6 separate regions of the Homo sapiens genome follow, and all the other regions are linked to region 1. The links are contacts of gene promoters, found by promoter capture Hi-C in blood cells and fetal thymus (Javierre and others, 2016). All regions are on one chromosome and are shown on one strand. Each heading gives the region's core, a stretch centred on a gene start or on the middle of the fragment in contact. The rest is flanking DNA. Distances are from core to core; before and after follow the strand shown.

Evidence for each region. Contacts are between HindIII fragments. The CHiCAGO score rates a contact against its expected background, and 5 or more counts as called.
Region 2: a fragment that was not itself captured here is called in contact with the fragment with the promoter of VPS37D in region 1 in 2 of 17 cell types (activated CD4 T cells and M2 macrophages); the score reaches 6.4 in activated CD4 T cells.
Region 3: a fragment that was not itself captured here is called in contact with the fragment with the promoter of VPS37D in region 1 in 14 of 17 cell types (total CD8 T cells, total B cells, megakaryocytes and 11 more); the score reaches 11.4 in total CD8 T cells.
Region 4: a fragment that was not itself captured here is called in contact with the fragment with the promoter of VPS37D in region 1 in 6 of 17 cell types (endothelial precursors, erythroblasts, naive CD8 T cells and 3 more); the score reaches 7.3 in endothelial precursors.
Region 5: a fragment that was not itself captured here is called in contact with the fragment with the promoter of VPS37D in region 1 in 13 of 17 cell types (total CD4 T cells, activated CD4 T cells, M0 macrophages and 10 more); the score reaches 7.2 in total CD4 T cells.
Region 6: a fragment that was not itself captured here is called in contact with the fragment with the promoter of VPS37D in region 1 in 5 of 17 cell types (naive CD8 T cells, total CD8 T cells, total B cells and 2 more); the score reaches 6.1 in naive CD8 T cells.

The regions. Positions count from the first base shown.
Region 1 is chr7:73,666,360-73,669,235 of GRCh38, reverse strand. It overlaps VPS37D (VPS37D subunit of ESCRT-I), which reads right to left and starts at 1,405. Exons shown (of 4, transcript NM_001077621.2): 1 at 1,140-1,405. The coding sequence starts at 1,277. RefSeq lists an enhancer at 248-1,243 and silencers at 1,225-1,524, 1,635-1,734, 1,745-1,794. The HindIII fragment of the contact is 11,431 bases long and covers 1-2,876 here.
Region 2 is chr7:73,450,527-73,453,402 of GRCh38, reverse strand. BAZ1B (bromodomain adjacent to zinc finger domain 1B) reads left to right here. Exons shown (of 20, transcript NM_032408.4): 14 at 2,409-2,556. Among named protein-coding and RNA genes, the nearest start is that of FZD9, 18 kb to the right of the region's middle. The HindIII fragment of the contact is 5,068 bases long and covers 1-2,876 here.
Region 3 is chr7:73,466,637-73,469,512 of GRCh38, reverse strand. The region is part of intron 9 of BAZ1B (bromodomain adjacent to zinc finger domain 1B); the gene reads left to right. Among named protein-coding and RNA genes, the nearest start is that of FZD9, 34 kb to the right of the region's middle. The HindIII fragment of the contact is 171 bases long and covers 1,295-1,465 here.
Region 4 is chr7:73,857,016-73,859,891 of GRCh38, reverse strand. No RefSeq gene overlaps it. Among named protein-coding and RNA genes, the nearest start is that of TMEM270, 2.7 kb to the left of the region's middle. The HindIII fragment of the contact is 4,951 bases long and covers 1-2,876 here.
Region 5 is chr7:73,486,258-73,489,133 of GRCh38, reverse strand. The region is part of intron 6 of BAZ1B (bromodomain adjacent to zinc finger domain 1B); the gene reads left to right. Among named protein-coding and RNA genes, the nearest start is that of BAZ1B, 35 kb to the left of the region's middle. The HindIII fragment of the contact is 1,059 bases long and covers 875-1,933 here.
Region 6 is chr7:73,508,914-73,511,789 of GRCh38, reverse strand. It overlaps BAZ1B (bromodomain adjacent to zinc finger domain 1B), which reads left to right. Exons shown (of 20, transcript NM_032408.4): 2 at 938-1,054. Among named protein-coding and RNA genes, the nearest start is that of BAZ1B, 12 kb to the left of the region's middle. The HindIII fragment of the contact is 3,762 bases long and covers 1-2,876 here.

The DNA.
Region 1 (2,876 bases), core at 156-2,655:
TGCCCTGAGCTCCCTCTCTGGCCTCAGTTTCCTCTTTTACAAATCGAGTTAAAAAACATCCACCTTATGGGGTTGTTGAGAGACTTAAGTGAGGAAAACTATAAAGGCCTCTACAAATGTTAGTTAATTTTTAATTTTTCAATTAATATGTCTGCTCAGGTCCCGGAGGAGTGCCCCTCCCTCCTCTGCCCCATTTTCCATGCATGGACAGCTTCCCTCTCACTCCAGGCCTTTGTCTGTTTCCTCCTCAGGTGTTTGCACCGAAAACACTCCCACCCCCTGCTCATCCTCTCCAGAGGGGTGTCTGCACCCCGTCCCCTCACAGCACCCCCTCGGGTCACCCTCTCTTCCCTTCCCACCCCTTCCTCTGCCTCCAGTGGAATCCTCACACCCCAAGGAATACACACCCCCTTTTCCTCCCTGCTCCGGGCTTACAGCAGCCCCGGCCCTGGAGAAGGCTTTTTCCTTGTCTCTAGCAGGGCCCAACCTCCCCTCCCTGCCCCTGGAGAACGCACTCCCCTCCATCTGTCCCTTGTGGGATGCACAAGCCCCTCCTCGCCTGCCTGCTTTCAACACACACTTGCCCTTTCTGCCCCCCACAGACAACCAGCCCGGGCCTATCTCCCGTGAAATATACAACTTTCTCTTACGGTGGCCTATGCAATACACACGGCAGCTTCCAGCACCCCTCCCCAACGCCAGGCACAAAGCCCCCTCTTGCGCCCCCAGAATGCGTGAACCCCCAACGGCCCCTCCAGGTGTCAGACAGGCCCCTAGTTCTCCCAGTGGAAGGCGCCTCCTCTTTCTGGCCCTTACAGAACGTGGGTGTGCGAGCCAGGGCCCCCCACAACACAGCCCCCCGGAACACACCTCCCCGGAGCATCCGCTGTAGGACACGCCTCGCGGCCATCCTGGGGGTGCACAGGCGCCCCCCTCGGGTCCCCGGCGCCCCACCCGCCCCAGGCCAGCTCCAAGCGCCCCCTCCCCCGGGGGTGGCTCCGCGGGGCCCACTCGTACGTGCCAGGCTCCGCGCCCACGGGCGGCCCCGCGGCCCGGCCCGCGCGGCCCTTCCCTCGAGCGGCAGGTCCCGCAGGCCGCTGCCCGTCCCCCGCGCCCCCCGCTCGAGCCCCCCGCGCTACCTTCCTGCTGAGCCGCACGATCCGGTCCAGCTTGGGCTCATCCTGAAGCAGGTCCCGGAGCTGCCCGGTGCTGAGGATCCCAAAGCGCCCCGGGCTGCCGGGCTCCGGCCCCGCCCGCGCCGCCCGGGCCCGGTACATGCCGCCCGCCCGCGCCCCCAGCTCGGCTGCTGGCTCGGCCCGCTCGGCCCGCTCCGCCCCGGCTCCGCTCCGCTCCGCTCCGCTCCGGCTCCAGGATCCGCTCCGGCTCCGGCCGCACGCACCGCTCCGCCGCCAGGGGGCGCCCCTCCCGCTCTTAAAGGAGCCGCGGCGCCGGGGCTGGGGGTGGGGCAGGGAGGAGGCGGGCCGCACCCCTCCCCGCCCCGGCCGCGCCGCGCCGCCTCCAGCACCCCAGGATCGCCCAGCAACCCGATCTCCCCGCCCCTCCCGGAATCTGAGCCGCCCTGCTCTGCGCCCCAGCACCGGCCCTGGCTCACCACGCCCCCAGGCACGGACTCTCCCACCCCGGGCGGTTACAATTTGCAGAGCCCGTGCACGTTTTCCCCTCGGATGGCAACAACAAATTTCTGACTTTGGCCGGGCGCCGAGGGCTCCTGCCTTGCAGCCCTCCCCAAGCCTCAGTTTTCTCTTCTGTAAAATGGGGTTGGAGATGGTGAGCGCTGACTTGCTGGCCGGGCGCGGTGGCTCTCTCCTGTAATTCCAGCGATTTGGGAGACCGAGAAGGGAGGATCGCTTGAGGCCAGGAGTTTGAGACCAGCCTGGGCAACATAACAAGACCCCCGTCTCTATTTAAAAAAATTTAAAAATTGTCAAAAGGGTGAAAAGAGGCCGGGCGCGGTGGCTCACGCCTGTAATCCCAGCACTTTGGGAGGCCGAGGCGGGCGGATCACGAGGTCAGGAGATCGAGACCATCCTGGCTAACATGGTGAAACCCCGTCTCTACTAAAAATACAAAAAAAATTAGCCGGGCGTGGTGGCGGGCGCCTGTAGTCCCAGCTACTCGCGAGGCTGAGGCAGGAGAATGGCGTGAACCCGGGAGGCGGAGCTTGCAGTGAGCGGAGATCGCGCCACTGCACTCCAGGCTGGGTGACAGAGCGAGACTCCGTCTCAAAAAAAAAAAAAAAAAGAGTGAAAAGAACAATTTTTAAAAGTATTTAAATGCTTTTAAAAAGTATCCGGACATGGTGGCATGCGTCTGTAGTCCTAGCTACTCAGGAGGCAGAGGTGGGAGATTGCTTGAGCTCAGTTTTGAGACCAGCCTGGGCAACACAGCAAGACCCCATCTCTATAAAAGTAAAATTAAAATGCTGAGGGATAGTGATATGGCTAGCAATGTTATAATGAATACACATAGTAGGTCAATACCCACTTGTTATTTTAGACATGCAGAAGCATCACAGAGGCCGGGCACGGTAGCCCATGCCTGTAATCCCAGCACTTTGGGAGTCCAAGGTGGGTGAATCATTTGAGGTCAGAAGTTTGAGACCAACCTGACCAACAAAAATTAGCCGGGCGTGGTGGTGGGCGCCTGTAATTCCAGCTACTCAGGTGGCTGAGGCAGGAGAATCGCTTGAACCTGGGAGGCGGAGGTTGTAGTGAGCCGAGATAGCACCACTCCACTCCAGCCTGGGCGACAGAGACTCCGTGCTCCGTCTCAAACAAAGAAAAAAAAGAAAAAAAAGAGATGATGTCGCCTCCCCAAAGTCACATTACAGGTAAATGATACAGTCCCGTTTCTTC
Region 2 (2,876 bases), core at 142-2,641, 220 kb after region 1:
CACAGTGAAGTAAACTCATTTTAGTTTGTCAGATGAGACTTGTTCTTAGCTTAGTTGGGGAGGAAAATGTGAGAAGTTTGCAGGTCCAGACACAGTACATAAATGGAAAGCATGGAAGAGTTTCTTGGAAAATCAACTAGGTTGCCTACTAAGTAGTTCAGCAGTGTTCTGCATTAAAATGGCATTATGCCTCGTGGTTCCCCACCAGAGGTCAACTCAGCCACAGCTTTGAAATTTTCCACTGCTCTTTGCTTTGAAGGTTTCCACTTAGCAAGGGCCAAAGTTTTTTCAACTGGCACTAGGCTGTTGCATGAGCTTTTATCAGTCTCTAATCTAGGATTCAGCTTCCTTATTTATAAAAATGGATTGTCTCTCAAATCTCTTTTTGTAATAGTGGTTGATTTCGGTTTTTAATGCTTATTTTGTTTTATTGAATTAAATAGAAAAGACTGATATATTGTTTGGCAAAATCCTGGGTTTTGTTTGATTGTTTACTTTGGTGGCGTTTGTCCGGACATCCTGATTACAGATGCTCCTGAATTTAGGATGGGGCTATGTCCCAATAAACCCATTGTTTGACTTACAGTATTTATAATTTATGATGGTTTTATCTGGGTTTAACCCTATCATAAGTCGAGGAGCCTGCTGAATGTGTATCACTTTTTTTTTTTTTTTTTTCTCGAGATGAAGTCTTGCTCTGTCACCCAGGCTGGAGTGCAGTGGTGCAATCTCGGCTCACTGCAGCCTCCGCCTCCCGGGTTCAAGCAATTCTCCTGCCTCAGTCTCCCGAGTAGCTGGGACTACAGGCACACATCACCACACCCGCCTAATTTTTGTATTTTTAGTAGAGACCAGGTTTCACCATATTGGCCAGGCTGGTCTCGAACTCCTGACTTTGTGATCCGCCCGCCTCGGCCTCCCAAAGTGCTGGGATTATAGGTGTGAGCCACCACGCCCGGCCGAACGTGTATCACTTTTGCACCATTGTGAAGTCATAGGTTTGACCCATCGTAAGATGGGGTGATTCTGAATAACCAAAATACGGAAGCAGCCCAGGTAACTGTCAGCTGATGAATGGATAAACAGCATGTGCAATGTCTATTCAATGAGATATTGTTCAGCAGTAAAACTGATGAAAGTACTGTTACATGCTTTGCGAATGAACCTAGAAACATGCTCAGTGAAAGAAGCCAGTTACAAGGGCTACCTATTATTGTATGATACTATTTAAAATCTGTTTTTTAAAAAAACGAGGTTAAATAAGCCTATTCCCAAAACACCTTCAAATTTAAAAAAAGTTTTAATGAGGTCAGATGAGCTATTGGATGCTCAGATTTTATAATTCATAGGAAATAGTAAAAAGCAGGACTGCCCATGACTGTTTTCTTCCATACTGTGTGCACTACATGTGAATGTCCACTAGAGGACAGCAAAGCCCATTGGTAGTCATTCCCTGCCAGTTCTCAAGCACTTTTAAAGAACCGAACCTGAAATTCTTACATTGATATTCCATTGAAAAGATTTGGGTTATCCTCTCAAGAAGAGAATCTGCAGTAGTGTCTGTCAGCTCTCTTTTTATCAGGGGAGAAGACAGCAAGGCAGCTGTGATTGTGGACCTCAGTTTACTGAGGAGCTCTGCAAAAGTAAGGAAGGAGATTGCTGTTTTTCAAAGCAGATGTTGAAATATCTACAACAGAGTCAGTCAGTTTCCAGTTGAACTTTAGCAGCTTCTTAAATGTAGATTTTTGTATGTGTGTTTATATTACTTATCCTTGTTATTCATAAATTTATACACACAAGGCTCCCTGTGATTCTCTGTTTCTATAGGAAAGAGAAAAAGCAGCCCTGTTCCCCTCATCCCTCTCCCCAGTCTGTTTAGTACCCCACTTCGGAACAGAATCAACTATCTTTGTTCCTTGGCACCTGTATTTTAAAGCCCATGACCTTCCAGGATAACTGGCTGTTTTCCTTTAGGAGATTCATTACTTCACAAGGACTTCTTTGCTTCGGGCAGGGCATTGAAATCCAGCTGTGGTATTGGATTGGTGGTGTTGTGGTAGGTTATTGATTATCTTTTAAATCGGAGTTTTATTAGCTGTCTAAAATTGTTGCATTATAGCATTTACAGCATACAGGTGATCCTATTTTTAAATTATACTGAGTTGTTAGGTGGATTTCCCTAGAAGATGCTTGTCCCCAGTCATCCACCCACTCCACTGCATCTCTGTGTGACCTTTGGCAAGTTTTTTTCCCCCTTTGGAGCCTTTTATAAGAATAAATGGTTTAGATTAGTGAAGTTCTAGGAGGCAAGTGTCCTCAGAATTCTCTCATACTGTCCCCTGTTCCTAGTTCTCTCTCAGTGTCTTTGGTCAGTGTAGTAATGCTGGCCTGGTTTGGTCTCTGTTTAGGTTGCATCTGCACTGGAGAAATGGAAGACAGCAATCCGGGAAGCTCAGACTTTCTCCAGGATGCACGTGCTGCTTGGGATGCTTGATGCCTGTATCAAGTGGGATATGTCCGCAGAAAATGCTAGGTGCAAAGTTTGTCGAAAGAAAGGTATATTTAAATCAAATTTGCTTATGTGGGTATATTAGGGAGTAGGATTTCTATTCCCAAGATCTTCATTTCTACCCAAAAGAATTTTGTGTACACAGAATATAAGTGTGGTATAGATTTTACTCTCCTGCAGGTCTGTAACATGCCAGTCTTTGAAATGTCGTGCCAGGGAATCAGAGCAGGCCCTTTGTTCCTCGGTTTAGAGCATAACATAAAAGCAATTGATCTCTTCAATCTTCTGATTTTTTACAGAAAACAAAATTAGTTAATCCTTGTAACTATTTTAGTTAGTTTAGTTTTAAATCCTTTGATTGGCTCAG
Region 3 (2,876 bases), core at 131-2,630, 200 kb after region 1:
GTATATCTGTATATCTAAGAGTTATTTCACCCTGCTCAAGTGGGCTCAACATTAAGGACTGCTTTTCCTCTGTCACGTTTTCCATTTGCAGAATTTCTTTATTGTGGTCTTAGATCTATTTGAGTGAAGTAGGTAGATGTGAAATGTGTAGAAAGAAGGAGAGAAACCCACGTTTGATTACCACCTTTGTTCTAAGCATAGTGTGAGAAGATGAAGAGCTTGAATATGAGGATATTTGGGTATTAGCTTTTATAGGAGCAGTTTTCAAACTTTGTCCCTTGGAAGCCTTTGTAGGTGCCTCAAGGGCTGAAATTGAGGTATGGGGTCTAAGAAGGGCAGTGTTAGATGTCCTCTTCTTCTTCTTCTTTTTTTTTTTTTTTTTGAGACGGAATTTCACTCTTGTTGCCCAGGCTGGAGAGCAATGGCGTGATCTCGGCTCACTGCAACCTCCACCTCCTGGGTTCAAACACTTCTCCTACTTCAGTCTCCCGAGTAGCTGGGACTACAGGTGTGTGCCACCACATCTGGCTAATTTTTGTATTTTTTGTAGGGACGGGGTTTCGCCATGTTGGCCAAGCTGGTCTCAAACTCCTGACCTCAGGTGATCTGCCCACCTCGGCCTCCCAAAGTGCTGGGGATTACAAGTGTGAGCCACTGCACCTGACCCTCTTCTTCTACTTTTAAAATTAATTTATTCAGTGTTTATGCTGAATCTCTATTTGTGAAGCAGTTTGTCATACGCTAGGGGTATAGCAGCAAACAAGACAGATAAGGTTCTTAAAATTCTTGTGAGGAGAAACATGGCAAATACCTAACGAAAAATGAGTGACTGAGAGGGGATCATGTAGGGACACTGGTAATATTCTTTCTCTTGATCTGGGTGCCGGGTATATGTGTTCAGTTTGTAAAAGAAACACACACTGAATAGTTTTCTGAATATATATCCATATTCTTTCTTAAAGTGTATGTATTGAGTATATTTCAAGAAAGAAATAAAACAAATTTTAATTAAAAAAATAAGATGGTTAGGTTAGGTCAGGTTTTCTCAACCTCAGTGTTACTGACATTTTGGGCTAGATGAATCTTTTTTTTTTTCCTCCCACCATGACACTGATGAGGAAGATAGTTTTTTGTACTGGGAGCTGTCCTGTGCATTATAGGTTATTCGGGAGCTCCCCTCTACCCACTAGGTGGTAGCAGTGAAAACCAAGTATGTCTCTAAATCCTGCCAGATACATGTGGCAGGCAGCAGTGCTCCCTTTCGAGAACCACTAGGTTAAATGATCCATAAGCTTCTTTCAGCTCTGCTGTCTGTAACCTAATGAAAATTGCTTATGTGTTGGTGTCATGTGGGAGATAAAGAAATAAAAGAAGTTGCTTCCTGAGTACTAGGTTATTGTGCTTCTTCGATAAATCTTTATTTTTTAAAAAGTAATTCATTTTAGAGAAATTCCTAACTCAAGCTTGAAACTCACAAAATTGTTAAATAAGAATAATACTGATTTACAAAAATAAACATTCCTTCAAATAAAACTTCAGATTTAAGGTGTTTGCATGTTGAATTATATCGAGCATAGATTATGTCACTTTATAGAAGAATCTGGTTTCGTTAGACTTCATAAATACTCAGGTGAGGGCAGTTAGGTTTGAGAGCAGTAACTGTGGAGCCTGGATGTTTAGATTTGGAAGAGATTCCAGTGGGATGAAGGAGTGTTACTTTATAATGTGTCCCCGAGACAAGATTGGGGAGCCAGACCCTTCACTTCTAGAGCATCCTGGTGGATGTTGTTTCGTGTTTTCCAGTTCTAGAATGGCAGTTTTTATTTAAAATTACCCAACTGAGGCTGGATGCAGTGGCTGATGCCTATAATCCCAGCACTTTGGGAGGCTGAGGCAGGCGGATCACTTGAGCTCAAGAGTTAAAAGACCAGCCTGGCCAACATGGCGAAACCCCGTCTCTACAAAAAACACAAAAATTAGCCGGGTGTGGTGGCGGGCACCTGTAATCCCAGCTACTTGGCAGGCTGAGGCAAGAGAATTGTTTAAGCCCAGGAGGCAGGGGTTGCAGTGAGCCAAGATTGCGCCACTGCACTGCAGCCTGGGTGACAGAGCAACATTCTGTCTCAAAAAATTAAAAAAAATAAATAAATTACCCAATTGAAAAGACTAAACAAAGTTATGTGTTAGTATTGCAGAGATGTTTCAGGTTAAAGTGGGGAGAATGGGAAAGAGAAGATAAACAATCATAGTATGAGGTAAGGCTTCAAATATTGTGGTGACTGGCCGGGCGTGGTAGCTCACACCTGTAATCCCAGCACTTGGGAGGCCAAGGCGGGCGGATCACCTGAGGTCAGGAGTTGGAGACCAGCCTGGCCAACATGGTGAAACCCCATCTCTACTAAAAATAGAAAAATTAGCCAGGTGTGTTGGTGTGTGCCTGTAATCCCAGCCACTCGGGAGTCTGAGGCAGGGAGAATTGCATGAACCTGGGAGGCAGAGGTTTCAGTGAGCTGAGATTGTACCACTGCACTCCAGCCTGGGCGACAGAGCGAGACTCTATCTCAAAAAACAAAACGAAACAAAACAAAAAACCAAATATTGTGATGATCTAAGATAGGCTTTGATAAATTGGCTCAAGATATATCTATGTTAAAGTCACGTATCAGTATATAGGAACTGATTTACAAAAAAGTTAGTTGTATTATTTGACACTTGAAGCCTCCAAGGATAAGTCTATAGTATTTATATGTTCTCATTACCTCTGCTTCACTACAGATGCCTTTGCTCTTAACATCATGTAAAAGGAGTAAATTCTTTATTTTGCTTTGATATAAAGATATTTAGTCATTCTTCATTCTAAGTTGCAGTACCCCTAA
Region 4 (2,876 bases), core at 126-2,625, 190 kb before region 1:
CTAAAAATACAAAAAAAAAAAAAAATTGGCCTGGCATGGTGGCGTGCACCTATAATCTCAGCTGCTCAGGAGGCTGAGGCAGGAGAATTGCTTGAACCCAGAAGGCAGAGGTTGCAGTGAGCTGAGATCATGCCACTGTACTCCAGCCTGGGCAAGAGAGTGAGACTCTGTGATAAAAAGAGGGAAGGGGAGGGGAGGGGAGGGGAGGGGGAGAGAGAGAGAGAGAGAAAGAAAGAAAGAAGAAAGAAAGAAAAAGAAAGAAAGAGAAAGAAAAAGAAGGAAAGAAAGAAAGAGAAAGAAAAGAAAGAAAAAGAGAGAAAGAAAAAGAAAGAAAGAAAGAAAAAGGAAGGAAGGAAAGAAAAGAAAGAGAAAGAAAAGAAAGAGAGGCAAGGACAGATGAGTTCATGAGCAGGGTTTGAGTTCAGACAACCGGGGCTGATCCCCAAAATCCCCTGGAAAATGGTGCAGAACGCACCTCAGAGTCACCCCACCCAAGGAGCATGAATACTGGGGTATTTATCTTCCATGACCTGTCTGCTTCCTGTTGGACATTAACTCCCGCTGAACCTCCAATCTTACCAGCACAAACACCAGAGAAAGCCCTCCAGCAGATGGTCGGGTGGGGGTCTTGCAGCAGGCGGCTCAAGCAGTGTGCATGGAAACTAAGGCAGAGGACTCTGGGGTAGGGACAGCAAAAAGGAATCCAGAACAAATAAACCCCTAGACATGTGATGATGGGAGCCTTGACCAGGGCTGAGGCCCTGGAAATGGAGACAACAGATGCCAGAAATCTGTAGCAGGTACAACAGATAGAATTGGAGGATGTCAAGACCCACGATGATCTGAGACGTTGCCCAATTTCATGCTAACAAGTTAGCCAACCAGAGCTCCACAGCTGCCACAGGAAGACATGAGACTCCCAGGTCAGAGATCAAAGACAATGTTACTCATGGCAATAGCAGTGAACTAGGTTATAAGCATTTTCCATTCATTCCTTGAGCTCCAAATCCCACAGGGTGATATGACAAGGGCCAGATGATGCCTGGCAGTATCTGAGGTGGGTGTGTTACAGGAGAGGTGGCTTGAGTTTAGGGAACCCAAATCTTTTCTTTTCTTTTTTTTTTTTTTTTTTTTTTTTTGAGATGGAGTCTTGCTCTGTCACCCAGTGCAGTGGTACAATCTCGGCTCACTGCAACCTCCACTTCCCGGGTTCAAGCAATTCTCCTGCCTCAGCCTCCCAAGTAGCTGGGATTATAGGCGCCTACCACCATACCCGGCTACTTTTTTGTATTTTTAGTAGAGACAGGGTTTCTCCAGCTTGGCCAGGCTGGTCTCAGACTCCTAACCTCAGGTGATGCACCCGCCAGCGCCTCCCAAAGTGCTGGGATTACAGGTGGGAGCCACCTCGCCCAGCCTTCTTTTTTTCTTTTTTTGAGATGGAGTCTCACTCTGTCGCCCAGGCTGGAGTGCAGTGGCACCATCTCCACTCGCCGCAACTTCCGCCTCCCAGGTTCAAGCAATTCTCCTGCCTCAGCCTCCCGAGTAGCTGGGATTACAGGCTCGCACCACCAAGCCCAGCTAATTTTTGTATTTTTAGTAGGGATGGGGTTTCACCATATTGGCCAGGCTGGTCTCGAACTCCTGACCTCAGGTGATCCGCCTGCCAGCGCCTCCCAAAGTGCTGGGATTACAGGCATGAGTCACCGCGCCTGGCCAGGAAACCCAAATCTTTTCTAATGTGCAGTAAGCAGGGCTGCCTTTTGCCCCAGAAGGAGACATTATGTCTTCCAAGGTTGTCTGATATACAGATATCCTAGAAAAGAAAGTCCAGGGCAAAAGGCAATCCATTAGTGCCTCACTCACAAGACATACAGAAATGTGAAAGACACATAGACAGAGGCATCCCAACAGAGGAATGAACAGGAAAAGAAGTAAAGCGAGACAGGGGTCAGGGATACCCCCAACCCAGAAGACTTGAGTGAAAGGCAGAAAGTAGCGCTGCCCACCAAGTGGGGGCGGGGAAGAGAAGGAGTAGGTTTGGGGAGAGAGGCAAAGGGATTGCTGGGGGTCAGAAGGTGGTGGCTGAGCCGGGTGCAGTGGCTCACTCCTGTAATCCTAGCACTTTCAGAGGCCAAAGCAGGTGGATCACTTGAGGCCAGGAGTTCAAGACCAGCCTGGGCAGCATGATGAAACCTGGTCTCTACCAAAAATATAAAAATTAGCTGGGTGTAGTGGTGCATCCCTGTAATCCCAGCTACTCAGGAGGCTGAGGCAAGAGAATCTCTTGAACCCGGGAGGCAGAGGTTGCAGTAAGCCGAGATCAGGCAACTGCACTCCAGCCTGGGTGACAGAGCAAGACTCCATCTCAAAAAAAAAAAAGAAGGGAAGGAAGGAAGGAAGGAAGGAAGGAAGGAAGGAAGGAAGGAAGGAGGGAGGGAGGGAGAAAAGAAAAGAAAAGAAAGAGAGGTGGCTGAGACTGGGATTTGCAGTTTGTTTTCCCTCCTCTCTTTGGTTTGCCACCACCATCACCTGGTATCCCTGTCCCCAGAACTCCACTGCCACAGAGGCTGAGCTGATATCTCCAGCCTCATACTGACCACACTCCCCGTGGTCAGTGTGGGAGCTAGAGCAGAAGAGACCTCACTCTGTCCCACAGCCCCTATGGGCAGCCCCATGGGAATGCTAGGCACATGTCTCAGTCCCAGCTCTAGTCACCTGCCCTTCCCTGCCCCCACCAAAGCCCTGGTCTTAGTCCCCAAGCTAGACTCCAGCCAGGGCTCTTTGTGGCTCTGTGGCTGCCCAGACCACAGGAACAGGTGCCCACAGAAGCCTGGATACCTAGTGTCAGAGGTCAGGAGCCTCCACTGGGGTGTGAA
Region 5 (2,876 bases), core at 155-2,654, 180 kb after region 1:
CAGTATATTTATATTTATAGCAGGTTTTGAACTCTAACATCAGATAATGAATTAAAAATTTTTCAGGTATATCTGTTACATACAGGTTGTTATGTGAGGTTGGTAGGGGAGAGGCCACATTTAATATCTTCCCCAGTTCAATTTATTTTTTATTATGCTAGCATAATTTTAAAAGTCTATATACATGTGCTTTTGTGCCTCAGACCCTTTTTGGAATGAGGTATGGTATAAATATAAAAAGTATTTTGTTAACCAGTTACCAAGAATGAAAACTGATTTTGCATGTCGGACAAGATGATCACATACAGTGGCAGCCTTGAAAAGAACCTGGAATGAGGAGCAGTGTGTGTGATAGATTAGTGGAAAACCTAGTATTTTCCTCTTGAAGAGTAAGTTTTTTTTGTTTTTTTTTTTTTTTTGAGTTGGAGTCTCGCTCTGTCACCCAGGCTGGAGTGCAGTAGTGCGATCTCGGCTCACTGCAACCTCCTTCTCCTTCTTCTCAGCCTCCTGAGTAGCTGGGATTACAGGCATGTGCCACCACACCTGGCTAATTTTTCTATTTTTAGTAGAGATGGGGTTTTGCCGTGTTGGCCAGGCTAGTCTTGAGCTCCTGACCTCAAGTGATCCGCCTGCCTCGGCCTCCCAAAGTGCTGGGATTACAGATGTGAGCCACCATGCCTGGCCGAGAAGGAGTAATTTTTAAAATCCTCACTTTTGATTTTCCAAATATTTTTATGAAGTTATATGGTACATATATATATTTCATTTTACAGATGGGGTATCTGAGGCCTAGTCTAATCAGAACCAACAGAAAGTGATGACAAGACTTAAGACACTGGCCTAGGATTTCTGATTTTCTTTTCCATTTCAAGCTTTACCTGTTAAAGTGGTTTTTTAATGTAGGTTTTGAAAGTACTTAATGCTTCTTTCATTGGTAAATGTAACGCAGCATACTGGCTGATAATTTTCATCTTGGTCTCTGGGCCAGCGTAGAACCAGAAAAGGGCTCTTGATCCATTAAAACTAGGTCACATTTCCAGGATTTCTTTTTTTCCCATTTCATTTAATTATGAAAATATAAAGACATCTGAAGTCATAACAACTAAATTTGTTCAATTATCTTAAGTTGATTATGGTGACAAAAGCATATTGAAAAGTAATTTTATTTCTCCAAAACATTAGTAAAGACCTCCAGTCATGGTTTTAGCACTTAGCAGATTTTCTTATTCTAGACCAGCAAGATAAGTGGTGTCTTCTGTTATGCTCTTTAAATTATTATTATTTGCTTAAAAGGAAAAATTTAGAAAGTAATTGGCTTTTTCTAGATCAGGACTAAATTTTCCATGGAACTATAATTTTTTTCTCAGATGTTTGTTTTTGTTTGTTGAGGAGAAATTTTGAGTTCACTGTCATTTTGTTGCCACAGAGTTTGGAACCATGATTCAGCTTTCTGTGGTCTTCACATGAGATTCCTATCTTCGCTATATGAGAACTCCATGAAACCATCTCTAAATGGGTTTTAGACTAATTCTTGGATTACTTGAGTCCTTAATATTTTCCTCTTTTCTAATCTTACAGCTCTGTTTTATGTATTTTAGTTTAGTGATTCAAGTATGTGAATAATGTGAAAGACTCTTTTTATGGGTAAAATATTTTTTGAGTTTCCTAAGACATAAAAGCTGATCCACACTTATTTCTTACTTTAGAGACAGGGTCTTGCTCTGTTACCCAGGCTGGAGTGCAGTGGGACAATCACAGTTCACTGCAGCCTGAAATTTCTGGGCTCAAGTGATCCTCCTCCCTGTGTCTCACTAGTAGCTGGGGACTACAGGCACGTACCACCACGCCCAGCTGATCCACAATTTTTGTAGGAGAGAGAGACTAGAACTCCAGGAACTTAAAACCTGAAAGGCAATTTCTGAAGAAATAAGCTTCTCCCAGAATTTCTAGTGGGGGCTTAACTTACTAATGTTATGAAATTTGGCTATAATTTAGGTTAAGACTAGGAAATGGAAGCTTGCTTAAAGTGCTGGAAGATGGCAGTGATTTTACTCAGAAAACTTAAGACTCATGTAAAATACTGGTCTACAAAGTTAAAGGCATATACTCAGGTTTATTATTTGTTTTCCCTACCTTAAACAATAATTTCTTATTTCCTAATACTATCTGACATGTCACTGATTGTTTTCTGTATATAAGCTGTGTTTTTCCTATTTATAAAATTAGGACTTTGGCTTCTCAGCCAGGGCAAAACATAGTAACACAGATGATAAGTAGAACCTAAAACATTGCTTTGTTTTCTTTCTTTTTCTAGAAGAAATTTAAAATAATCTGTTGAGGATTAAAGTTGATCACATAGGACCCATCCATCCAAAGGCATGGGATGTTTTCTCTCTCTGTATACTCTTTGGTTTTTGTAGAATGTAATGTTCTGTCAGGCTCTGAGTACATTTACTGTAGAGTGAGACCAGGTGTAAAGAGAGTGAGTTCTGAGCAATAGTTTTAGCAGGCCAGGCGCAGTGGCTCACGCCTGTAATCCTAGCACTTTGGGAGGCCGAGTTGGGCGGATCACGAGGTCAGGAGATCGAGACCATCCTGGCTGACATGGTGAAACCCCGTCTCTACTAAAAATACAAAAAATTAGCCGGGCGTGGTGGCGGGCACCTGTAGTCCCAGCTACTCGGGAGGCTGAGGCAGGAGAATGGCATGAACCTGGGAGGCTGAGCTTGTAGTGAGCCGAGATCACGCCACTGCACTCCAGCCTGGGCAACAAAGTGAGACTCTGTCTCAAATAAATAAATAAATAAAATAGTTTTACCAAAGGACCCATAGTGAGGGCTTACGTGGGAGAGAGGAAAATTATGTAAAGATACAGG
Region 6 (2,876 bases), core at 224-2,723, 160 kb after region 1:
CTCGGACTCCCAAAGTTCTGGGATTACAGGCGTGAGCCACCACGCCTGGCAGTGGTGGACTGACTCTTAAACTTGTCTGAGTTTTCTGAAAATTTTGCTTACCTTACATTGTTATTTTTTATGACTTGTGTTTTAATGTACCTTTACTTTTTCTTATGAGTTTTTGGTACAGCGTAAGTCTTGTGTAATGAAACTTTGGTGAATTGAGGAAATCACATTTGTACTAAAATATTAATTTTTTTTGTAAAACACGAAAAACCATTTTTATTATTTTTTATTTTTATTTTTTGTAGAGATGAGGTCTCATCATGTTGCCCAGGCTGGTCTCGAACTCCTGGTCTCAAGTGATTGTCCTGCCGTGGCCTCTCAAAATGCTGAGATTAGAGACGTGATCATCCCAGTCTGTAAATCCCATGCAGGTGCCCAGCCCATGACAATCCATTCTCATTATACTTCAGTCTTAGTCATCTTGCTTTGGGCCCTGATTCCATTTTTTTCATTTTTTTTTATTTTTTTTAGTTTTTGAGACGGAGCCGCACTGTCTCCCAGGCTTGAGTGCAGTGGCGTGATCTTGGCTCACTGCAAGCTCCGCCTCCCGGGTTCACGCCATTCTCCTGCCTCAGCCTCCTGAGTAGCTGGGACTACAGGCGCCCACAACCACTCACAGCTAATTTTTTGTATTTTTAGTAGACACGGGGTTTCACCGTGTTAGCCAGGCTGGTCTCGATCTGACCTCGTGATCCGCCCGCCTCGGCCTCCCAAAGTGCTGGGATTACAGGCGTGAACCACTGCGCCCGGCCTCCAATTCCATTTTTATCCTCTCATGCTACACATTTTAAAAAGGAGACTAGATTTTTTTCTGTATATAAGTATCTTATGGGTATGGGTTTGTCGTCTCTGTTGCTTGCATATTGTTTTCCTGAACTACTGCCAACAGAGAGTATGAAGCCCGCTTGGAAAGGTACAGTGAGCGCATTTGGACGTGCAAGAGTACTGGAAGCAGTCAGCTAACACACAAGGAAGCCTGGGAGGAAGAACAGGAAGTTGCTGAGCTGTAAGTAATGGAAGTATTGCTCTTTGCCACCATCTTCACATTGTTAGGAAAGGAGGGAATATTAACCCTAAAGCAGTATGTGTATTTAAGTTTATGGGGCACAAATTAGACTATATTACATTAGTGTACTGTATGGGTTTCTGGGTTCCTTTGCCTAATGGCATTTTGCAGTAGCAATATGGAATATTTATTTAGTTATAGGTGCACTTGTTTAGGTATTTACCAGGCCTTTGAGTGTTCCTGCTCCATACTTTGACCTTGTAAGTACTCTGGTAATGTGGTTTATTCTTTTTTGCTTTTTCTTTTTTTGAGACGGAATCTCGCTCTCGCCCAGGCTGGAGTGCAGTGGCACGATCTCGGCTCACTGCAAGCTCCGCCTCCCGGGTTCAAGTGATTCTCCTGCCTCAGCCTCCCAAGTAGCTGGGACTACAGGTGCTCGCCACCAAGCCCGGATAATTTTTTGTAGTTTTAGTAGAGATGGGGTTTCACTATGTTAGCCAGGATGGTCTCAATCTCCTGACCTCGTGATCCTCCCGCCTTGGCCTCCCAAAGTGCTGGGATTACAGGCGTGAGCTACCGCGCCTGGCCCTTATTCTTATTTTTATTTTTGAGATGGAGTCTCACTCTGTTGCCCAGGCTGGAATGCAGGGGCACGATTTCGGCCCACTGTAACCTCTATCTCCTGGGTTCAAGTGATTCTCGTGCCTCAGCCTCCTGAGTAGCTGGGTCTACAGGCGCTCACCACCACGCCTGGCTAATTTTTGTGTTTTTAGTAGAGATGGGGTTTCACCATGTTAGCCAGGCTGGTCTCGAACTCCTGACCTCAAGCGACCTGCTCATTTCGGCCTCCCAAAGTGCTGGGATTACAGGCGTGAACCACTGCACCCAACCGGGTATGATAATTAAATTTTTTTTTTTTTTTGCTAGTTTAATAAGTGAAAAGTGTTAAATCATTGCTGTCCTTTTGCAACAGCTCTGGTGTTCAAGTCACGTTTCCAACATGTTAACGCTTCCTGGTTTCCTTTTTTTTAAGAGGCACAGTTTCGCTCTGTTGCCCAGGGTGGAGTGCAGTGGTATGCACATAGCTCCTGGGATCAAGCCAGCCTCTTGCCTCAGCCTCTTACGTAGCTGGAACTATAGGTGCATGCCACCTCACCCAGCTAATTATTTTAGTTTTTTATAGAGGCAGGTTCTCACTCTGTTGGCCAGGCTGGTCTCAAACTCCTGGGCTCAAGCAATCCTCCCACCTGTGCCTTTCAAAGTGCTGGGACCCACTGTGTCCAGCAAACTGCATGTTTTTTTTTAATCTTTGTATTCCCCAGTGCTTTACGTATATTTGCTAAAGCAGTGTTGTTTTGCTGTGAACCTAAAACTCGTAAAATGTTAAGTGTTTTTTTTTGTTTGTTTGTTTTTTGAGACTGAGTCTCTCTCTGTTGCCCAGGCTGGAGTGCAATGGTGTGATCTTGGCTCACTGCAACCTTCGCTTCCCGTGTTCAAGTGATTCTCCTGCCTCAGCCTCCCGAGTAGCTGGGATTACAGGCATGTGCCACCACGCCCGGCTAATTCTTGTATTTTGAGTAGAGACAGGGTTTCGCCATGTTGGCCAGGCTGGCCTTGAACTCCTGACCTCAGGTGATCTGCCCGCCTTGGCCTCCCAAAGTGCTAGGATTACAGGTGTGAGCCACCACGCCCAGCCAAAAGTTAAGTCTTTTTTTTTTTTTTTGAGATGGAATCTCGCTCTGTCGCCCAGGCTGGAGTGCAGTGGTGCGATCTCGGCTCACTGTAAGCTCCGCTTCCTGGGTTCATGCCATTCTCCTGCCTC